2 separate regions of the Homo sapiens genome follow, and region 2 is linked to region 1. The links are contacts of gene promoters, found by promoter capture Hi-C in blood cells and fetal thymus (Javierre and others, 2016). All regions are on one chromosome and are shown on one strand. Each heading gives the region's core, a stretch centred on a gene start or on the middle of the fragment in contact. The rest is flanking DNA. Distances are from core to core; before and after follow the strand shown. Region 1 holds the start of ZNF235 (zinc finger protein 235). Region 2 holds the start of ZNF230 (zinc finger protein 230).

Region 1 (5,081 bases), core at 838-3,337:
TTCATTTATGTCAGGATCAGGATCAAAGTATGTAATGAAATATTTGAAGCCGAACACAAATTAGAAAACAATTCAAGATTTTACACATGCCCATATTACAACGTTGTCTTAGATTCCCGGCCAATGGAGCTGCTTTTGTTTGCCATAACAGTACACATTTAAAATAAATGAAGTTCAAGATATTTCTCTGGCTTAATATTTATATTGCCTTTTTGTGGGTTCTTAGTATATTAGAACGAATAGCACATTAAACAAAACACTGTCATGAGCCCTTAGGTACCTTGAGGAATAATGGAGGGAAAAGAGTCAAACACTTTACTCCCTTCTCTCCTTGTCACCGACCCCTAAATATACACAACTTGGACACTAAGGACTAAAACTCCATCCTCTTTCCCTGCCCCTCACTGATACGGAAGAGGGGAATGGAAGTGCTGGAGGGGAGAAGGGTGTGGTCCCTGACTAGGGCTCTACCCCCAGGCCTGTGGCCACGGACCTAGGTGAGGACAGGCATTCCTGCCTTTGTGCCCAAATATTGCATTTCCCAAGACCACCCTGGCCCACCACGCCCCCATCCTGTGCCTATAAAAACCCTGATACCCTAGCAGGCAGAGACACAAGCTGCTGGACGTTGAGAGGAGAGCATTGGCGGACACACAAACAGCTGGCTGTCGAGAGGCTGTCGAGGGGAGCGGGTCGGCAAAAGAGCACACTGAAGAGACCGGCAGGCCAGCAGGCCATTAACCGGTGGAATAACGCAGTTTGGCCTGGGTAGTCGGAGGAGCGCCCAGGCCGCTGAGAGGCTGACTCCAGGCGAAAACCATCTCCCTTCTGGCTCCCCCTTCTGCTGAGAGCTACTTACAAATCGTTCTCCAAGGTTTCTCCAATCCTTGCACTCTTTCTCCAAGCCTATGTGTGATGCGATTCTTCTGGTACACCAAGGCAAGAACCTCTGGGATACAGAAAGCCCTCTCTTGCTTGCGATAAGTCAGGGGTCTAATTGAGCTAACACAAGCCTCCTACAGATGGCTGAACTAAAAAAGCACCCTATAACACACGCCCACTGGGGCTTCAGGAGCTGTAAACATTCACCCCTAGACACTGCCGTGGGGTTGGAGCCCTACAACCTGCCCGTGTGCATGCTCCCCTAGAGGTTTGAGCGGCTGGGCACGAAGAAGCGAGCCACACCCCATCACATGCCCTGGGAGAGGGAGAAGTGAACTTTTCCCGTTTCATCACAATTTACTTTCGGCACTAACATGATTGTTCAGCTGTCTTCATCAGCAGGCCTTTATTCCAGGAGATTCCTGCCCAAGCAAACTGTTTAATTGTTCATTATGGGAACTTCCACAGAGACCCATCAAATTTTCAATCTCTTCCAAAGAAAGTGTCAATAGATTGCAATTTAAGATTCTTTGCTTCAAAAATCCTTGCTATATCCACCAATCCTGGACTGTAGTATCATGATCATTATGCAATACTAATAAAATCCCTTGCATTGAAAGACCCGCCTTAAACATCCAGTTCTCAATCAGTTCCAACCTTGCCTTGACACTTTGCTCTGTGAAGGTGCCAACGCTCCGTCGAAGTGTTGTTCTCCATTACTGCAATCAACAATAAATTCTGTTTTTTGTCTTATCAACAGGTTGAGTTGATGATATTTGGGGAGCCGGCATTTGACACAAGTTTGAGATCTGGTGTTCCTTAACGTTCAGCGTCCATCGGAGCTCAGCCTAAGTCACTTTTACGCTTCCCATTTTAGCCTACCCTCTGCTTCTGCGAAAAATTTTGGTTTCTAACTTATTTTAATAATACAAGCTGCACTTTTCATTTTTATATGTCATCACTTTAAAAATTTTACAATTATTTTCTCATGAGCTTTTAAAAATGAATAAAACAAAAACGAATCTCACAGTAGTAGCACCAGAGAAGTGGCTCAAACCCAACCGGCTTGAGTCAAAACAAAGCCCAGCTGGTGGGAAGCGCTGCCCTTGGAGCATTCTGGGAACTGTAGTCCAGGAGTGAGAGAACTCTGAGACGCTTCCGCTTAGGAATTCTGGGAAGTGGAGTCCACGAACCGTGGGCACTCGGAGGCACTTCCGCTCCAGGAAGGCGAGGTCGGATCTGAGATATCTCCCAGGGAGGTGAGTCAGCTCCGGGTCTCCAAGACTTCTCCGAGCCCTCTTTGCCTAGGCGTGGGGCCAGCAATGAACCCGTCCTTGGCTTGGGGAAGAGAAGCCGCGGCCAGCGCTGGAGGGCGGGGTTGGGAGGCTGCGGGAGTTTGCGTCCCCTCGGCAGAACCTCTTGCGTGGGAGGCGGGCTCGCGTCGTCCTTCGAGGTTGAGGGTCTGCTGCCCTAGCCGTCCTCACGCACCTACCAGCCAGTCCTGCCTGCTCCTCGCAGTAAAATATTGGGCAAGTTACTTAATCTCTCCTTGTCTCAGTTTCCTCGTGCCTGTAAAGGGTTAGTGCGTTCCCAGTGATGTTCTTGTGAGAATTAAATGAGGTTTTATAGAAATAAGCTTAAAACCAGTGCATAGGAAAATGTTGGATGCCACCGTTAATTCTGTTATAATACTGAAAAAGACGCCTGTTGTTTGGAAACTCCTCTGAGTCTAGGAGATCCAGCTACGGAGCCGCTGTCCCTTCTCTAATCCTTGCCTGATGTGGGGCCGTTCCTGGATTCTTGGACTTTTCTAGCCTCTTGTTTAGGAGACAGGAATTAGTTCCAGCGGAGCCTGGGGAATGTCCTGTGTGTTTTATCTCAGATAAGCGATCGTCATTACGGATTTGCAGAGTGCCAGAGGTGTCCTGAGGCCCTAATAAATGTTCAGTATAATGTGGTTATAACCAATAATCCCGTGTGGTTAACTTAAGTGTAACACCATTTCTTAGAGAGTTTTAGGTTTTTATTAGTCATTGCTTTCATGCATGTGGAAAAAGAGACTTTCTTGAGGCTCCTCCAGCTTAGTAACATTTGCAAGTAATTACATCTGTTGGAGGAAAAAAAAACCTGTGGCAGTTTAACTATCATTACCAACGGAACTAATTATGTTAGACAACCAATCACAGTTACAGACTTTTCTGAGGGTAATGGTAACTCACAGGACAGAGCAATTATTTTTGAGTTCTGGGTTTCTTAAAAGATTCATTTTCTAGAAAGCATACTCAAAAGGGCAGTTTTATGAAGCATAATAGCACTTGCTTGTCAGAAGCTGCAGGAAATAGAGAATACAGGCATTATTATTGTCCCCATTCACAGGTAACTGAATTAAGGCACAGAGAGATTAATAATTCGCTTAAGGTTTATACTGCTGATCAGTTGAAAATAGGTAGAAATGCCAAAATTTGAAGCCAGGCATTTTGGCTCTGTTACATTCCCCTGCCTGTCTGTGTCTCATTTCCTTGGAAACTAAAGTTCAGAAGGAGTACACAGAGAGCTGTATTTGATTTAGGTCTGTTAATATGAAATGTTCATGAACAAAAGCAGCTGGTTGAGGGGGCCGAGGGGTAGCTGGGAGCTAGCTCCCGTTCTCCTCACTAAGCCGTGTGCAACTGTGTCTGCCTAGAGACAGGGGGACCTTTCTCTGAAGTGTCACATAAAAGTGCCATGGTGACTAATGCCATCCCTAACCTATCTCATGATGCCTTTCCCTCCCTCAGGTTCACTTCCCCGGAACTCTGCCTTTTCCCAGAAGGAGGAGGGGAAAAATGACCAAGTTCCAGGTAAGTTTGGTTTGCCTTTGTGTTTCTTAAAATGACATCTCATTTCACAAAGATTGGACACATTTTTCCTGTTTGGGAACAGTAAAAGGGAACGAAAGGCACTTGGAATGTTGTTATATGCCAGGTTGTTGCCTTTTATTTCAATATAATAGTATAAAAATTAACAGAGAGATATATATATATCTGTTAATTTCTAAAATATATTTCTATATAATTATATATTTATATATACGTATATATTTTATATTTATATACAAATATATATGTATATATTTATAAGAAATATACGTATATTTGTATATATGTATTATATATACAAATATATACGTATATTTTATATAAATGTATACAATATATACGTATATTTTATATAAATATATACGTATATATGTATATATTTATATATAAATATATACATATATACGTATATATTTATATATACAAATATGTATATATAAATACATACAAATATATACGTATATATTTATATACAAATATGTATATATAAACACATACAAATATATATAAGTATATATTTACTCATATATAAGTATATAGTTATATATATATAAGTATATATATACTCATATATAAGTATATAGTTTTATATATATATATATATGTAAATATAAATCTCTATATATATTTAGAGACAGAGTCTCACCCTGTTTCCCAGGCTGGAGTGCAGTGGCTCACTGCAGCCTGGGCCTGGGCTCAAGAGATCCTCCCACCTTAGCCTCTTGAGCAGGTGGGACCACGGGCACACACCAGCACAACCAGCTAATTATTTTTAGTAGAGATGGGGTGTTCCTGTGTTTCCCAGGCTGGTCTTGAACTTCTGGGCTTAAGAGATCCTCCTGCCGTGGCCTAACAGATATATTTTTTAAATGGAAAACAACTCTCACATTACAAATATGTTTACAAATCATTTCCCACATTCCTTTTCATTTGCACTCAACATATATAATCATACTTTAGGTACAATTTCGAATTTTTTAAATTTAATTTTATATCACCTGCTTTTTAAATGATCACATCATTTTCCATCATTTACTTGTTTTTATTTTTCCTCATTCTCCATGTTTATGTAATCTATGAATTTTGCCATTTTAAGGACATTGACAATAGCAGTTTTTCCCCATGTAACTTCTCTTCCCAAATAAGGATTCTGAGAATTCTACCATTTTTTTAATCTTTAAAGTTTTAGACTCATTTTCTCATACACAGCACCTCATTTTATGGAGAGAATAAAGTATAGCTTAGTGCAGTAGCATCTGACTGATGCCAAACTCAGAGAAAGTAATTTTAGTTTCAAACGAGCTAGATTTCTTTCTTTAATTCTAAGTAAAACCTTGTATT
Region 2 (5,081 bases), core at 1,185-3,684, 300 kb after region 1:
TGTGCAATATCCTTACCAACAATACATAATCTGAAACTAAACATGAAATATATCAAACTCCAAATGAACATCTTTCTCCAAAATAACTTTCCTATTAAAAAAAAAACCACCATGTTTATAAAAGACAAAGACTGTGGAATCTTTCTAGACTAAAGAAACTGTGGAATGTGACAACTAAAGACAATGCATAAACTGGACTTTGAATGGCATTGCAGGTGAAGGGTGGGGTAGGGGACACAGTCATAAGGACTTTATTTTTTTATTTTTTGAGACAGAGTCTCGCTCTGTCACCCATGCTGGAGTGCAGTGGCGCGATCTCAGCTCACTGCAACCTCCGCCTGCTGGGTTCAGGTGATTCTCTTGCCTTAGCCTCCCAAGTAGCAGGGATTACAGGAGCATGCCACCACACCCGGCTTTTAAAAATATTTTTAGTAGAGACAAGGTGTCACCATGTTGGCCAGGCTGGTCTCGAACTCCTGACCTCAGGAGATCCACCCGCCGTTGCCTCCCAAAATGCTGGGATTACAGGCATGAGCCACTGTGCCTGGCATAGGACTTTAAATGAAAAACTGAACAAATTTAAATATGTAACTACAGATTAGATAACAGGATGTTAGGTAATATGCTATTCAACACTATCTAATGAGTAACACTACAACTACTAGTAGTCTTTTAACAGATCTGATATGTAATAGATAACAATATTATTTAATATCTAATATTATCTAGCATGTTATGTGAAACCCTATACCATCCCTTCTTAAATACCTCTTACCAACACACCCCACATTTACCATGGTATGTGGGCTTCCTTGCTGCAGAAAGCCATAATCAGCTGTCTCTGGTTAGTTATGTTCCTGGTGGTATTTGGCTGATGGTCATCAACAAAGCAACCAGGAAAAATGTAAACAATTGGCAAATTTGGATAGAGTATGAGAACTCCTTATACTATTTTTGCAACTTTTCTATAGCTTTTAAATGATATAAAGATGAAAATATTTTATTTTGTTTTTAGTTTTTAATTTTTTTTTTTTTGAGACAGAGTCTCGCTCCCTAGCCCAGGCTGGAGTGCAGTGGCGCGATCTCGCTCACTGCAAGCTCCGCCTCCCGGGCTCACGCCTTTCTCCTGCCTCAGCCTCTGGAGTAGCTGGGACCACAACTGCCTGCCACCATGCCCAGCTAATTTTTTGTATTTTTTTTTTTAGTAGAGATGGGGTTTCACCATGTTGGCCAGGATGGTCTCGATCTCCTGACCTCGTGATCCACCCGCCTCGGCCTCCCAAAGTGCTGGGATTACAGGCGTGAGCCACCGCGCCCAGCAAAAATATTTTAGATATCAGGAAATAGTCATAAGGATAATGGGAATAATAAAATTGAGCATTATATAATATGGCAGTTCACTAGTTTATTCTTTTTTTTTTTTTTTTTTTTGAGTCTCACTCTGTTGCCCAGGCTGGAGTGCAGTGGCGTGATCTTGGCTCACTGCAACCTCCACCTCCCGGGTTTAAGCAATTCTCCTGCCTCAGCCTCTAGAGTAGCTGGGACTACAGGCACGTGCCATCACGCCCGGCTAATATTTGTATTTTTGGTAGAGATGGGGTTTCACCATGTTGGCCAGGCTGGTCTCAAACTACTGACCTCAAGTGATCCACCTGCCTTGGCCTCCCAAAGTGCTGGGATTATAGGCATGAGCCACCACAACCAGCCTCACTAGTTTAGTCTCTATTAGCAATATTTAAAATTTTCTATAGTTAAAAGACATATGGGAAAACACATTAAAATATAACAATTTTTAAAAAAATGTTTATCAACAAATATAGAAGTAGACACAAAGAAAGACAAAAGAAATCAATTAGAAGCTTAACAGTTACTACCTTTACATCTTGGATACATGGGTAATTAAAAAACTTTTTCTACTCTCATTTCTCCTATTTCAGACTTTTCCACAATGATACAGTTCCACAACAGTACGAAATACTTGGAAAACATGAAACAAAATAGTTGAGAAATTTTTAAAAATTCCTAGACGTCCAAGCCCACGAGCCTTGCTCTCAACGTCCTTTCAATCAGGTCCTAACTTGCTTTCCCTACGAGTCCAGCTAGTTCCTCTGCCTCAATGAGAATGTATCCAAGAGGTGATCAACTCAGGCTCTGACCTGGACTGCCTAGGTGCCAACCCCAGCTCTACCTCTCACTAGTTGGCTGCTATGCACCCTGTGTCTCACTCTCATTTTTAAAACAAAGAAAAGCAATACTTCACAGAGCCACAGTGTGGCCTAAATTTATTTGTATAAAGCACTTAGAATGAAGTTACCAATTACGGCTTAATGATTATCAACACCCATTCCCGAGGACACACTCTCGGTTGGGTGAACATCTCTATAAAGGAAAAAAGCCAAGGACCAATCACATAGAGATTTGCCCTCAGTAGCCAAGAAGTCCCCTCCCTGCAGCTCTTTTAGAAAGGTCAGGCTGGGGAAGGCGAAAGTTGTGAAATACCCTGACTGCATCGCGGTCCCCCATAAAAGTTAAATGCTCCCCGCCCTTCGTGGAAGCGGACGCAACTCGCTTTCCTAAAAAGAGGTCAGAAGGCCTCCCGGGATCATCCAGCGTCCTGCAGGGATTAGGGAGAAGGACCAGGGCCCCTGCAGCTGAAGCTATGACTCCACCCGGGGACCTGACCTCTTCGGGAAGTTAACAAGAGACCACCAGTCACCAAGTGACAGGGACTGCTTTAAGGTTCTCATTTGCGTTATCTCTTTCAGTTCCCAAAAACGATTCTACTAGGATGGTTCTAATGTCCCCATTACCAAAAACAGCAATGGAAAGTATAAGGACATTGAGTAACACTCCACGTCACACTGCGAGAAAGCGGTCGCACAGGTAGGGTGGAGAGAGGCAGGCTGAGCGAGGTCAAAGTCCTGGAAACGCTCACAGCAGGGCACAGAGGACCCCGCCAATTCCAACCCCCGGGATGCGAGCACAGCACCCCCATCCCAGAAAGCTTCCGTGGACGGGAAAAAAACCCCATTCCCCGCCCCCACCAAACCTCCGCTCTCCGCCAAGGCTTCTTTTCCCTTGCTTGGATCATCGATCATCGGGTCGTTGCGACCCCAAGCGAAGGTGACAAGTTCAGAAGGACCCGCCAGACGCAGAAATGGCTCAAACTACGCGGTTATGTAGCAACCGCAGGCTCACACACCGGAAGTGCTCGCGTCTCCACAGAGCGTCTGGACTCCACTTCCCAGAATTCCCCGGTTCAACTGCTTGAGCCAAAGGGTCCGCCATTCCATGAAGTTGATGGACTACAGTTCCCAGAATTCACTCGTCCACCCGCCTGAGCCAACTTGCCCGCGACTCAGAGTGTGTCTGGACTCCGCTTCCTCCAATGCCAAAGGAAAATGTCTATAATCTCACTCTTCAGCGGGAAGCGTTGGACTCCGCGGTGGTCCTTGACTACACACACCGCAGTGCCCACCGGGAACGTATTCCATATCTCTGAGCGCCTGGTGGGGAATGTGGACTGTGACCCTGTGAGTCGTCCGTCTCTCTTCCTGAGTCTTTGAGCGAAAATAGTGTATAGACAGGAATTCCTGAAGTCTAAACGCCTCCCACGATGACAGGAGTGTTATTGGGAAGAGAACAAACGAGGAGATAAAATCTTCAAGGATTAGGATAATCTGACGATGGGAGGTTAAAACTAACGGTTTAAAGGATGAGCCAGGTGGAATGGTTTGGCAGGGGCAATGAGGAGCAGGAAGACACCAGCCCCTACTCCAGAAGCTGTGGGACCACTGGTTTGGCAGGAAAAGCCACCCCCATTTAAGATCACAGCTACTAGTGGAGAAGCGGTGTCGTCATGGAATAGCTATCTTCCCATAAACTTTTCATGGTATTCATATTTCTCCTTAGATGTAGAAACATCAAATTTCAGCGAATGTAGTGAATTGCTCAGTACCTCAGAGCAATAATGACTGATGAAGAGCTAGGCATTGGTATCAATCTTACATTGAGATTGTAAATGCAGTAAAACGGGAGGATTCTATAGGTGAAGGAGCATGTCTTATAAAGAGTTTTCTTCCTGGCCAAGCGCAGTGGCTCAAACCTGTAATGCCAACCCTTTGGGAGGCCAGGGCAGGACGTTCCCTTGAGCTCAGGAATTGGAGACCAGACAGGGAAATACAGGGAGACTTCGTCTCTATAAAAATTTTTTTTTAACTGGCCAGGCATGGTGGCCTGATCTTGGGACTACAAGTTCCAAGTACTCAGGAGGCTGAGGTGGGAGGATTGCTGAAGCCCAGGAGTTTGATTGAGGCTGCAGTGAGCTATGATGCCACCACTGCCCTCCAGCCTAGGCAACAGATACCTCAATAATTAAAGATTTTTTTTTTTAAGTTTCTTCTTATTTCTTGGTGAAACATAATTTCTTTATTATAGTTAGCAATTTAAAAACTGGCATTGGTTAAAAAATAATAACAGTATAAAGCTAAATTAGGAAACAATTCATCTAAAAACCTGCTCTTTTGAAGGTAACTTTTTTTCTCCCTATAAACATACATTGGCCTATAAACCAATATTCTTCTTTTTAAAAAAAATGGAGTCTACTGTTTACCTATTTTTCTAAACTAAAAACTTTTCAAAATTTTGTTTAGACACAAAAATAAGGTGACTGTGCCAAACTTTTGATGCCAAACATCCGCTCTCTGAAAATTGAGTGATCACTATTCATATGCCAGTTATAGCTGTATCCTTGATCTACTCTGCCTTCCCGAAAGATAAGATGTATTGACACACTCAATCGTAGCATGCAGGGAACTGAGCCTAAAAGGTTAGGGGCACTTGGCATCAAAGGTCCCTTCTGCTTCCCAGGTCCGTGCACTCTGGGTCTGTGTTGGGAGGAGCAGCCTCTATGATCTCCTAGATGCCTTTGGGGTCATTCTTCCAGTGTTAATGGACAGCAGGTCCTGGCTTCTGTTGACATGACCAATCCAAACTAATCTCCTAAATCAGTTGCTTATCTCTACCGTTGTTTTATCCAGAACAGGTTTTCTAATTTTTTTTTCCAAAGTAGATAGGCTGTG

Evidence for each region. Contacts are between HindIII fragments. The CHiCAGO score rates a contact against its expected background, and 5 or more counts as called.
Region 2: a contact is called between a fragment that was not itself captured here and the fragment with the promoter of ZNF235 in region 1, in 13 of 17 cell types (monocytes, non-activated CD4 T cells, naive CD4 T cells and 10 more). The highest score is 11.1, in monocytes.

The regions. Positions count from the first base shown.
Region 1 is chr19:44,302,031-44,307,111 of GRCh38, reverse strand. ZNF235 (zinc finger protein 235) reads left to right here and starts at 2,087. Exons shown (of 5, transcript NM_004234.4): 1 at 2,087-2,141; 2 at 3,660-3,722. The coding sequence starts at 3,708. RefSeq lists enhancers at 173-672, 673-1,174, 1,751-2,304. The HindIII fragment of the contact is 5,796 bases long and covers 1-2,520 here.
Region 2 is chr19:44,001,076-44,006,156 of GRCh38, reverse strand. ZNF230 (zinc finger protein 230) reads right to left here and starts at 3,200. Exons shown (of 5, transcript NM_006300.4): 1 at 3,050-3,200. ZNF230-DT (ZNF230 divergent transcript) reads left to right here and starts at 3,287. Exons shown (of 3, transcript NR_110727.1): 1 at 3,287-3,892. RefSeq lists an enhancer at 2,928-3,437. The HindIII fragment of the contact is 1,145 bases long and covers 1,862-3,006 here.